Linked DNA regions of Homo sapiens: region 1 is linked to region 2. The links are contacts of gene promoters, found by promoter capture Hi-C in human tissues and cell types (Jung and others, 2019). All regions are on one chromosome and are shown on one strand. Each heading gives the region's core, a stretch centred on a gene start or on the middle of the fragment in contact. The rest is flanking DNA. Distances are from core to core; before and after follow the strand shown.

The links. Contacts are between HindIII fragments. The study calls those that stand out against the background at their distance.
Region 1: the fragment with the promoter of NPBWR2 here is called in contact with the fragment with the promoter of GMEB2 in region 2 in 4 of the 25 tissues and cell types used here (heart left ventricle, lymphoblastoid cells, mesendoderm cells and 1 more).

Annotation. Positions count from the first base shown.
Region 1 is chr20:64,103,846-64,109,582 of GRCh38, forward strand. It overlaps NPBWR2 (neuropeptides B and W receptor 2), which reads right to left and starts at 3,720. Exons shown (of 2, transcript NM_005286.4): 1 at 3,519-3,720; 2 at 1-3,077. The coding sequence starts at 2,986. The coding sequence ends at 1,985. RefSeq lists an enhancer at 3,268-3,768. The HindIII fragment of the contact is 24,186 bases long and covers 1-5,737 here.
Region 2 is chr20:63,624,603-63,630,000 of GRCh38, forward strand. GMEB2 (glucocorticoid modulatory element binding protein 2) reads right to left here and starts at 2,499. Exons shown (of 10, transcript NM_012384.5): 1 at 2,354-2,499. It overlaps MHENCR (melanoma highly expressed competing endogenous lncRNA for miR-425 and miR-489), which reads left to right and starts at 2,633. Exons shown (of 2, transcript NR_132417.1): 1 at 2,633-2,790; 2 at 3,588-4,222. RefSeq lists silencers at 1,861-2,400, 2,491-2,940. The HindIII fragment of the contact is 46,766 bases long and covers 1-5,398 here.

The sequences.
Region 1 (5,737 bases), core at 2,470-4,969, 480 kb after region 2:
AATGTTGTCAGGGAGGATAAGTGGATGGAGATGGCCGTGGCGTGTTTGGCTGGCTAGCACGGAGGAGGGGCACTGCTGCAGGCCTGAGCCGAGTGGGCTGGAACGCTGGAGTATTTGGTGGATGGGTGGAGGTGGGCATACACCCTGGGACACCTCGTGGGGCGGTGAATGGTGGGTCCTGTGTGCCGGCTGGACAGATTGATCAGAGCTCTGGGTCATGAGGACTGAAACCAACCCAGAACACTCACACCTCACTGCCAGGCTGGAATGCCAGGCATGGAACCAGCTGAGAGCCATGGGGCCAAGAGTCGGGGCCTGGCCACAGCACACCTGGGACCAACCCCTGGCCCCTCCCACCTGACAGTCAGCGGTCTCTGAACTGCCTGCATTTCATTACCACCCCTCACCCTGCCCCCACCAGAGTTTCAGCATGCAGCTCCTGCTGGCTGATTACAAGCCCCTGGCCACACCCCGGGAGAGAGAGTTCCAGGTGCCAGCCTGTCCAAGTGATGGATGGTCCCTAGGCTGTGGTGGCCCAGAGGTCCTGGCAAAAGGGCCCTGTAGCCTCTAGTAAAGTATGAGAGGAGCATCGGCCACAGCAGGGGTGTACAGGCCATGGCGAGGACCGTCGGCCACAGCAGGGGGGTACAGGGGAGCACAGGCCATGGAGAGGACCGTCAGACACAGCAGGGGGGCACAGGGGAGCACAGGCCATGGTGAGGACTGTCGGCCACAGCAGGGGAGCACAGGCCATGGAGAGGACCGTCGGCCACAGCAGGGGAGTATAGGGGAGCACAGGCCATGGAGAGGACCGTCAGACACAGCAGGGGGGTACAGGGGAGCACAGGCCATGGAGAGGACCGTCGGCCACAGCAGGGGAGTATAGGGGAGCACAGGCCATGGTGAGGACTGTCGGCCACAGCAGGGGGGCACAGGGGAGCACAGGCCATGGTGAGGACTGTCGGCCACAGCAGGGGGGTACAGGGGAGCACAGGCCATGGAGAGGACCGTCGGACACAGCAGGGGGGCACAGGGGAGCACAGGCCATGGAGAGGACTGTCGGACACAGCAGGGCGGGTACAGGCCATGGCAAGGACCGTCGGCCACAGCAGGGGGAACACAGCAGCACAGGCCATGGCACATGGGCACGGCGGGGCTGGGCCTCCTGCTGGAACTCCACTTGGGCTTCAGGCCACGAGAGTGGATTTCTGGGTCTCATGCGGTGCAGGTGTCCGCCTTTGCAGCAACACAGCATCGCTGCTGCCTGAGGTGCCCGCACTTACCACCCCCCGGCCCCATCTTGGGGAGAGACTATGTAACGTGGCCCAGGTCAAGATCACAGTTCAGGTTCCCTCCCCTCCCGACCACTGTCATTAGGGATCCTGAGTCCCAGAGCCTTCCAAGGGGCTTGTCCATCTGTCTGTCTCTCGTGGGTAAGTGGGCCCGGGATGCTTGCTGTGTGGGGGCCTCTGCCAGGACCTGGATCCCTGCTGCTGTCCACCCAGGGGCTGTCCAGGAAGCAGAGACATGGGAGGTATATGCCCACGGCTGTCTGTAGGTCTGGTGGCCAGCGTGTGAGGGTCTGTGTCTCCTTGCGTGGAGAGGACAGCACTGGGATGTGAACAGGCCGGGCGTCCCCTGAAAGAGACAGCCGGAACTGGGTGGGGGTGGGCGTGATGATGGGGGTGATGGTGGGGGTGGTGGGGGGGGTGGGCGTGATGATGGGGGTGGGGGTGGGGGTGGGGGTGATGGTGGGCGTGATGGTGGGGGTGGGGGTGATGGGGGTGGGCGTGATGGTGGATGTGATGGGGGTGGGCATGATGATGGGCGTGATGATGGGGGTGGTGGTGGGGGTGATGGTGGGGGTGGTGGTGGGGGTGGGGGGGGGTGGGCCTGATGGGGGTGTGGGCATGATGATGATGGGCGTGATGATGATGGGGGGTGATGATGGGCATGATGATGGGGGTGATGGTGCCCAGGCCCTTCAGCACCGCAATATGCTGCGGAAGTTCTTCCGGAAGTTGTCATCTAGAAAGGCGTAGAGGAAGGGGTTCAGGCACGAGTTGGCGTAGCTGAGGCTGGTGATGACGTAGGACATACTGATGACCAGTGGGGTCTGGGGCAGGTCCGTGGTCAGGGCCACGACAGAGGCCAGGTGGAAGGGCGTCCAGCAGAGGAGGCACACGGCCAGCACGACGAGGACCAGGACGGTCACCTTCCGCCTGGCCTTGCCTAGAGCCTTGGCTCCAGAGCGGAGCCGCACGGCCCGCAGCCTGCGCAGGAGGTCTGTGTAGAGCACACAGATGGTGCACACGGGCAGCACGAAGCCCAGGACCAACGTGTAGACACGGCTGGCCTTGAACCAGACCTGCTCGGGCCACGGGAAGCTCAGCCCACAGCTTGGGACCTGCAGCTCGTTGCTGTAGACGCCAGCGAAAGAGAAGAAGGGCAGAACCAGGACCGTGACGCCCAGCCAGACACACAGGCTGGCGACCTTCGCCCCCCGGTAGGTGCGCCAGGGCATGTGGCGGGACCTCACGGTGGCCAGCACCACCAGGTATCGGTCCACGCTCATCACGGCTAGGAAGTAGATGCTGGAGAAGATGTTGTAGTGGTCGACGGCCAGCACCAGCTTGCAGAGCAGCTCCCCGAAGGGCCAGTACTGCAGCAGGTGCTCCGCGATGTTGACGGGCAGTACCAGCGTGAAGAGCCCGTCGGCGACGGCCAGGTTCAGGATGAACACGTTGGTCACCGTCTTCATCTTGGGCGCCCTTAGGATTACAAGGATGACGGCCGTGTTGCCAGTCAGCCCCACAGCACAGATCCCGGAGTACACGGCGGGCAGGAGCACATAGAGGAACGGCAGTGGCTCGGAGAAGGTGGCATTGTGGCCAGTGCCATTGTCCTGAGAGACGTTGGCACCCATCGTGGGGAGGGAGAAGGAGCCCCTGCTGTCAAGGGGCTCTGGGTGCCCAGCGGCCTGCATTGTAGCTGGGACCGTTGACGATTTGCGCCCTGGGCAGGTGGGAGGTGCCTTGGAGTTGGGTATCTGGTTGGGGGCCTCCTTGGGCTGGATTCTAGGAAAGAAAAACAACCAGAGACTTTGAGATCCGGCCGTCTGTTAGGGCACAGCCACTCCAGGTTCTCTGGCAGAGACTGCGGCCACTTTGCCAGGTCAAGGACATGGGGCCAGAGGGAGCCTGGTGGGGTGTGTGGGGGCCTCCTCCCGCCTCTTCCTGGTGAGACTTCAGCAGATCAGTTCCCTCCTCCCGCAGAGAGCAGCTGCTGGCCACCCTCCTGGGAAGAGATGTGGATCCGTCCCTGCCCCAGCAACCCGCAGATGCACGGGCTGCGTAGAATCAAGCGGTCCCTTTGGAAACACACCTCCCAAGCTCATCTCTGGCTCCCTTGAATCTGAAGGTCCTTCCCTCAGGGGTCTTGGAGTCTGCACCCTCCCTCACACCCTCCCGAGAGATGCTGCAGACCCTGCTGGTCCAGCTACTCTTCTCTCCACTGACCTGTCCAGTGCTTCGAGTCCAGAAGTTGGTAGCCTTGGTGTGTTCCTGGTTTTGGCCAGTACAGGCAGTCGCAGGGATGGAGGGCGAGGTGTGGTCCTCACTGACAGACCTCCAGCTGAGGTTTCAGGAGTTTCAAGACCTGCCCTGCTGGCTGCCTCAGCCCCGGCTGCGAGGTTCCCAGCCTGGTGTCAGTGCTGATGCTGGTGAGGGAGGGAGGCGGATCCCCCTTGCTGACGTGGAGCCCGGAAGGCAGGCCCCACCTTCCCCTGAGCTGCAGTAGCGCCTGCAGTCGGCTGTCCCAGGGTCTCCTCAGCATTCACTTACCCAGGCAGACTCCTCAGTGGGCGGCTGAGGCACGTGTGCGCCTGTGTGTCAGGAAGGGACTCCATGCAGGGGCCTCTGGGTGTGCCCAGGTCTTCGGGCAGAGGGCACTGAAGGCATCTGTGCCTCTGTCCGGGAGTCACTGTGGGCCTGGGCACCCTTATCTGTGAACATGGGTGTCTTGGTGGGTCTCCTGCCCCACCCTGTGTGTGTACATGGTGTGTTCCTGTGTGTGTGTGCCAGTTAGGACATGTACGTGTGTGGGCCTGTGTCTGCCTGTATGGGGGTCTCTGTGGGTGAGCTCTGCGTTGTATCTGAGTGGGTCTACATGTCCTTGGCTGAGTGTGGGCATCTGGGGGGTCTGTATGCCCTCATGTGGAAGCAGAACTTGTTGGCCATAGGCAACCCACCTTCTTTTTTTGTCTTTTGCTAAAAGAGGAACTCAGCCTAGGCAAGCTGTGAAAGGCTGCAGAGAAGACGTTCTCACGCTGACACGTAACTCTCCCGCCGTCCTGCAGAGGTGGTGAGCATCACACTCTGCTCTGGGTTGGTCTTTAAGTCCTTCCCTTCTCCCTGCTTTTCTTCCTTGCTGGACGCACCCTGGCTTATCCAACCCGTGTGTGTGCAGCTCGGCCGCATCTGGACCTGCTTTGCAGGCAACGCCACAGCTGACACGAGCAGTCGCCAGTCTCAGAGCCGCTCCTCAGCGGAGACGTGTTGGGTCAGAGGGTCTGTGTTTTCTTTCCTTTCTTCTTTTTTGAGACAGGGTCTTGCCCTGTCACCCAGGCTGGGGTGCAGTGGCACTATCATGGCTCACTGCAGCCCTGACCTCCCTGGGCTCAGGTGATCCTCCCACCTCAGCCTCTCAAGTAGCTGGGACTACAGGCATGTGCCACCATGCCTGGCTAATTTTTGTGTTTTTTTTTGTAGAGACGGGGTTTCACCATGTTGCCCAGGCTGGTCTCGATCTCCTGAGCTTCAGCCTCTACCTCAGCCTCCCAAAGTGCTCAGGTTATAGCCATGACCCACCGTGCCTGGTCACTGTGTGTTTTCAGTCTGGGGAGATGTGTCTGCCCATCGAGACTGTGCCCGCTGCCTGTGGGGTTGCAAGGATGTCACCGCACACTCATGGTCGGCCTTCTTTCCTGAGAGTTGCTCTGTCAAGTCTATTGGTTAGGACAGGAGCCTGGGCAGTCGCCCTGAGTACCCTGATGTCGCCAGCCTGAGGGTACACTGTGGGTGGGCCCCGAGCTACCCTTCTATGGGCTGTGCCATGTGGATGTTGAGTCCGGGGTCAGGGAACCCTGCTGAGATATCTCACACTCCTCTTCAGCCAGTTTGGGGATGGCGGTGGGGGGGATCTGTGGGTGTGTCTCGAGGGAGCGTGGGGCTTGTAGCCACAGTTTGTCACATAAGTGGAGCTTGACGCCCACAAGGTCAGGGGATGGTGATTAGCAGCCGTGAGGAGAGGGTGCATTGGGGCTGAATTTTGTGATTTGGGGTGTTCGTGGGGTCGGGAGGGGTCAGTTCACAGCTCCTGGAAACCAGAGGCGTGACACAGAGAGGCCAGGCCTGGCATGTGGTGGCCCAGGCATTGACCAGGGTGTGGGCTGGGCCAGGCGGTCACTGGTCTTGGCTGGGGAGCGGCCGACCATGGCCTCAGCACCGGGCACTGGGAGAATGTCCCAGGCCTGCTGTCACCGAGCTGCTGTCCTGGGGTGGGGCTGGCCACGCTGGCCTGATTCTGGGCCTCCCTGGGGGCCTGCTGTCACCGAGCTGCTGTCCTGGGGTGGGGCTGGCCACACTGCCTGACTCTGGGCCTCCCTGGGGGCATTGCTGGGGGCCTCTCCCTTCCATGCATTTTGGGAGGGGCCCAGGCTAGTGCCGGTGCCTTCCTC
Region 2 (5,398 bases), core at 1,249-3,748:
CACTGCAGGCAGGGGTCCTCGTCACAGCTTCAGGGCTTTGCAGAGGATTACGCAATGTACACGCACAAAACTGAATTCCAGCCTCTCCATTGGCAACTGCATACATACATATATTCTTTTTTTGAGACGGAGTCTCGCTCTGTAGCCCAGGTTGGACTGCAGTGGCCCGATCTCGGCTCAATGCAAGCTCTGCCTCCCGGGTTCAAGCGATTCTCTTGCCTCAGCCTCCTGAGTAGCTGGGATTACAGGCGCCCACCACCACGCCCGGCTAATTTTTGTATTTTTAGTAGAGACGGGGTTTCACCATGTTGGCCAGGACAGTCTCGATCTCCTGACCTCGTGATCCGCCCGCCTCTGCCTCCCAAAGTGCTGGGATTACAGGCGTGAGCCACTGAGCCTGGCCTCCAATGGCAACTATATTAAAGGTTCAAAGCAATATGCACAAAAGTTACCTCACAGAAAATAGTGCAAGTCCTTGATACAATGCTCTTTAGACACAGAAGAAGCACTATAGAATAGAGCACCTCGCCCTATTGCCTTCCCAAGGGCGAGCACCCCCTCCTCTCTCCACAGCTCCTTCTTTGTTTTTTTGAGATGGAGTCTCGCTCTGTCACCCAGGCTGGAGTGCAATGGCAAAATCTTGGCTCACTGCAACCTCCGCCTCCCGGGTTGAAGTGATTCTCCTGCCTCAGCCTCCCGAGTAGCTGGGACTACAGGCACCCAACACGCCTAGCTAATTTTTGCATTTTTGGTAGAGACGGGGTTTCATCATGTTGGCCAGGCTGGTCTCGAACTCCTGACCTCCAGTGATCCTCCCACCTTGACCTCCCATAGTGCTGGGATTATAGGTGTGAGCCACTACACCTGGCCTCTCCACAGCCCCTTCTGTGTTGAAGCCAAGACCCACCCAGCTTTGATCCCAAGGCTTGGGTTCCCCACTAGTGTGAAGTGAGTTTCCAAATTATTAGGTAAATCAGATATGAGAAAATATTTTATTTTACTTTTTTTTTTTTGAGACGCAATCTTGCTCCGTCACCCAGGCTGGAGTGCAATGGCACCATCTCCACTCACTGCAACCTCTGCCTTCTGGGTTCAAGCAATTCTCCTGCCTCAGCCTCCCAACTAGCTGGGATTACAAGTGCACACCACCACGCCCGGCTAACTTTTGTATTTTTAGTAGAGACAGGGTTTCACCGTGTTAGCCAGGCTGCTCTCAAACTCCTGACCTCATGATCCGCCCACGTCGGGCTCCCAAAGTGGTGGGATTACAGGTGTGAGCCATCACACCTGGCCCAAGAAAATATTTTTAAACTAGTATTCTTGACCGGCACGGTCAACACTGATGTAATTGAAACTGTTGTATTTGAAGTGTTAGCAAAGAAAGAGAATTCTGGTTCAACAGAAAAGTCAGTCACGACTTTTCAGTCACGCATGAATTACACAGTAACCAAATAGATAACATGCCATGACTGACGACGGGCCCACAACAAATCAGCTCCGACCAACAGGGTCCACACCACCATGGGTCTACACAGATCCAGGTCCCGCCTGTGAGCCTACAGTGACGCGGGCCCCTGTGGGGTGGTCCCTGCAGGTCAGGTCCCTGAGAGTGGGTCCCAGTGGGGTGATCCCTGCGGGTCGCGTCCCTGCGAGTTGGGTGCCTGCCGGGTGGCCCCTGCGGGTCGGGTGCCTGCGGGGTGGTCCCTATGGGTCGCGTCCCTGCGGGTCGGGTGCCTGCGGGGTGGCCCCTGGGAATCGCGTCCCTGCGGGTCGGGTGCCTGCGGGGTGGCCCCTGGGGATCGCGTCCCTGCGGGTCGGGTGCCTGCGGGGTGGCCCCTGGGGATCGCGTCCCTGCGGGTCGGGTGCCTGCGGGGTGGTCCTTGTGGGTCGCGTCCCTGTGGGGTGGTCCCTGTGGGTCGCGTCCCTGTGGGGTGGCCCCTGCGGGTCGCGTGGTGGCCCCTGCGGGTCGGGTGCCTGCGGGGTGGTCCCTGTGGGTCGCGTCCCTGCGGGTCGGGTGCCTGCGGGGTGGTCCCTGCGGGTCGCACCCCTGCGGCGTGGTCCCCCCGGGATGGGTCCACCGAGGAGGCCGCTGGAGGCCGAGCCCGCGCCCGCCCGCGGCGCCAAGATGGAGGCAGGAAGCGCCGCCGCCCGCGCCCGCCACCGCCCGCGCCGCCCGCCTGACGCCGCCGTTGCGCCTGACGCCGCCGCCCGCGCGGCCGCCCCTCCCCCGGCCCTCCCCTCCCCCCGCCGTAACGTCCTGACGCTCCGCAGGGACCCCTGACTGGACGGCGGCGCGTGAGCGGAGCGAGAGGCCTCGCCGCGGGGGGGCCGCGGGCTCGCCGGCGCCGCTTACCTGGGGCCGCGCCGGGCCTGCTTAGGCACCCGGCGGGGGCGGCGGCGTCGGGAGCTGCGGCGGCGGCGGGCGGCGGCGGCGGCCGCGGGCTTCGCTCCTTGTTGGGGATTCGGCGGCGGCGGCGGCGCGGGCGCGCGCTTCCTAGTGACGCAGGCGGCGGGGCCGCGCACGCACGGGGCTGGGAGGGCCGGACACTTATTTGGCGCTCGCGGAGGAGGAAGGCGGGGCCGTGAAATAAGGCCCGACGGGCCCCGGGGCGCGTGCGCGGACCGACACTGTCAGCTCCTAACGCCGCAGGTTCCTCCTGGTCCCCGAGGCCCCCGGTCGGGCGTTGCCTGCCCCGCGCGGGCGGCCGGGCCGAGGGACGATGGTCAGTGGACGGACGGCGCCAGGGAGCAGTGCCCACGCGCGGCAGGGCGGTACCTTCAGGCCTCCAGGTACGGGCGCTCCTCGCCCGGACGCTGCTGTGTGTGAATGGGCGCGAGGGGACTCCCCTGCGGGGCGGACGCCTGAACACGAGGCTGTGGAGGAGGACGCTGTAGGGTGCGCGGACTCACGCGGAACATGCCAGAGGCTCAGCCAGCCACGGCGCTCCCAGCGTGGAGGGCGAGGGGCATCCGGGAGCGGCCGGGAGGGCTCGGTCACCCCTCAAGCTGTCACCCCAGTCCCACAACCAGCACCCCGATCCTATCGCAGTCCCACAGCCGACACCCCGATCCCACCCCTGCCCAACAGCCGGCACCCACCCCAATCCCATAGCTAACACCCCGGTCCCACCGCTGTCCCACGGCCGGCACCCCGATCCCACCCCAGTCCCGCAGCTGGCACCCCGATCCCACCCCAGCCCAACAGCTGGCACCCACCCCGATCCCACCGCTGTCCCACAGCCGGCACCCCGATCCCACCCCAGTCCCGCAGCCGGCACCCCGATCCCACAGCCGGCACTCACCCCGATCGCATAGCATAGCTGATACCCCGATCCCACCCCAGTCCCATAGCCAGCACCCCGATCCCACCCCAGTCCCATAGCCAGCACCTCGATCCCATAGATGACACCCCGATCCCGCCCCAGTCCTATAGCCCGCACCCCGATCCCACCCGAGTCCCGCAGCCGGCACCCCATCCCACCCATGTCCCACAGTCGGCACCCCGATCCCACTCGGATCCGGCAGCCAGCTTGGATCCTGTGGCCCTCCTCCAGCCCCCAGGGCTCATTTATATGTTTTATTGGCAGAGGCTGGGGCTGGCTCTGTTGGCCTCTGTGCTGGGTTTCTTCCTCTGCACCGCAGGACTGGCTCTCCTGACCTCTCCAGGTGTCATCGAACACCCTTGTGCTTGCTGTCACCCGCTGCCTGTCTGCAGGATCCCGGATTCCGTATCAGGGGACCGAAATTAGTCGGAAAATAGGAAGCAGGTGCTCGCTTGGATGGAACCCTGACCCTGTGCTCACACTTGTAGGAGGAGGGCTCTGCAGGCCGCCTCCCGGAACGGGAGGTTCCCAAGCCACTGCACTTCGGAGGGGCTGTAATTAGAGTTGCACATTCATTCAGTTCCCAGTAAAGTAGAACGTGCTCCAGCCAGTGAGGAAAAGGTGTTTTTAAAAATTAGATTGGCCGAGTGCGGTGGCTCATGCCTTTTACCTCAACACTTTGGGAGACAAAGGTGGGAGGATCACCTGTGGCCAGGAGTTCAAGACCAGCCTGGGCAACAGAGCCTGTCTCTGGGGAAGAATAAAAAAAAAAATTGAGCCTTTGTCAGTGCTACTATTTTATTATCTGGTAAATATGAGAGGGTTCACGCGGTCTATGTGTGTCATTTATCTGAGTTTGCCTATCGTCACGTTTTGGAAATAAATGTCAATAAAGTCGAAGAGGAGTGCTGAGGGGGGCCTGGGGATGGGAGGGTGGCTACATCATGCCTGTGTGTTGCGCAAGCCCACCGAGGTCGGCCTGGGGTGAGCCCTGGGGCCTGTTCTGCCTCCTTCACTCTGGGGCTCCAAGAGACAAACTGGGCAACAAGAGAGAAACTCCATCTAAAAAAAAAGAAAAATCACCTCCAAGATAACTTAGCTTTCTTCTGCTGGCATAACAAATTATCTCAAACTTAGTCGCTTAAAAATGCAAATTTAGGCTGAGTGCGGAGGCTCACGCCCATAATCCTAGCACTTTGGGAGGCCAAGGCAGGATTGCTTGAGGCCAGGAGTTCGAGACCAACATGGCCAGAACTGTCTCTTTTTAAAAAATGCAAATGTGTCCGGCACGGTGGCTCACGCCTATAATCCCAGCACTTTGTGAGGCCAAGGCGGGCAGATCACGAGGTCAGGAGATAGAGACCATCCTGGCTAACACTGTGAAACCCCCTCTCTACTAAAAATACAAAAAATTAGCCTGGCGTGGTGGCAGGCGCCTGTAGTCCCAGCTACTCGGGAGGCTGAGGCAGGAGAATGGCGTGAACCCAGGAAGCGGAGCTTGCAGTGAGCCGAGATGGCGCCACTGCACTCCAGCCTAGGCAACAGAGCAAGACTCCGTCTCAAAAAATAAATAAATAAAACTGCAAATGTATTCTCTAACTGTTCTGTAGGTCGGAAGTCCAGCCCAGCCTCACTCCGCCAAAATCAGGGTGTCTGCAGGGCCGATTGCTTTTGGAGCTCCAGGGGAGAAGCTGTTCTGGCCTTTCCAGTTTCTGGAAGCACTTGAGCCCCTTGTCTCGTGGCCTATCCCACACCTGAAAGCCAGCCAAAGCCAGTTGAGTCCTCACCCTGTTGGCCCCGACACTGATCTCCTGCCTCCCTCATCTGCTGTCAAGGCCCCTTGTGATGACATGGGGCCACCAGCTGGCCCAGGGCACCTCCTGTCAGAGTCCGCCGACCAGTGACCTTCATTCCATCTGTCGCTGTAATTCCCCTTTGCTTGGAACCAACGTTCACAGATCCCAGGGGTTAGGATGTGAATATCTTGGGCAGGGCTGTGGGGGGGCTATTCTTCCTTCTAAAATATTTATCATTTTTGTTTTGGGGATTTTTTTGGTTTGGTTTTTTTTGAGACA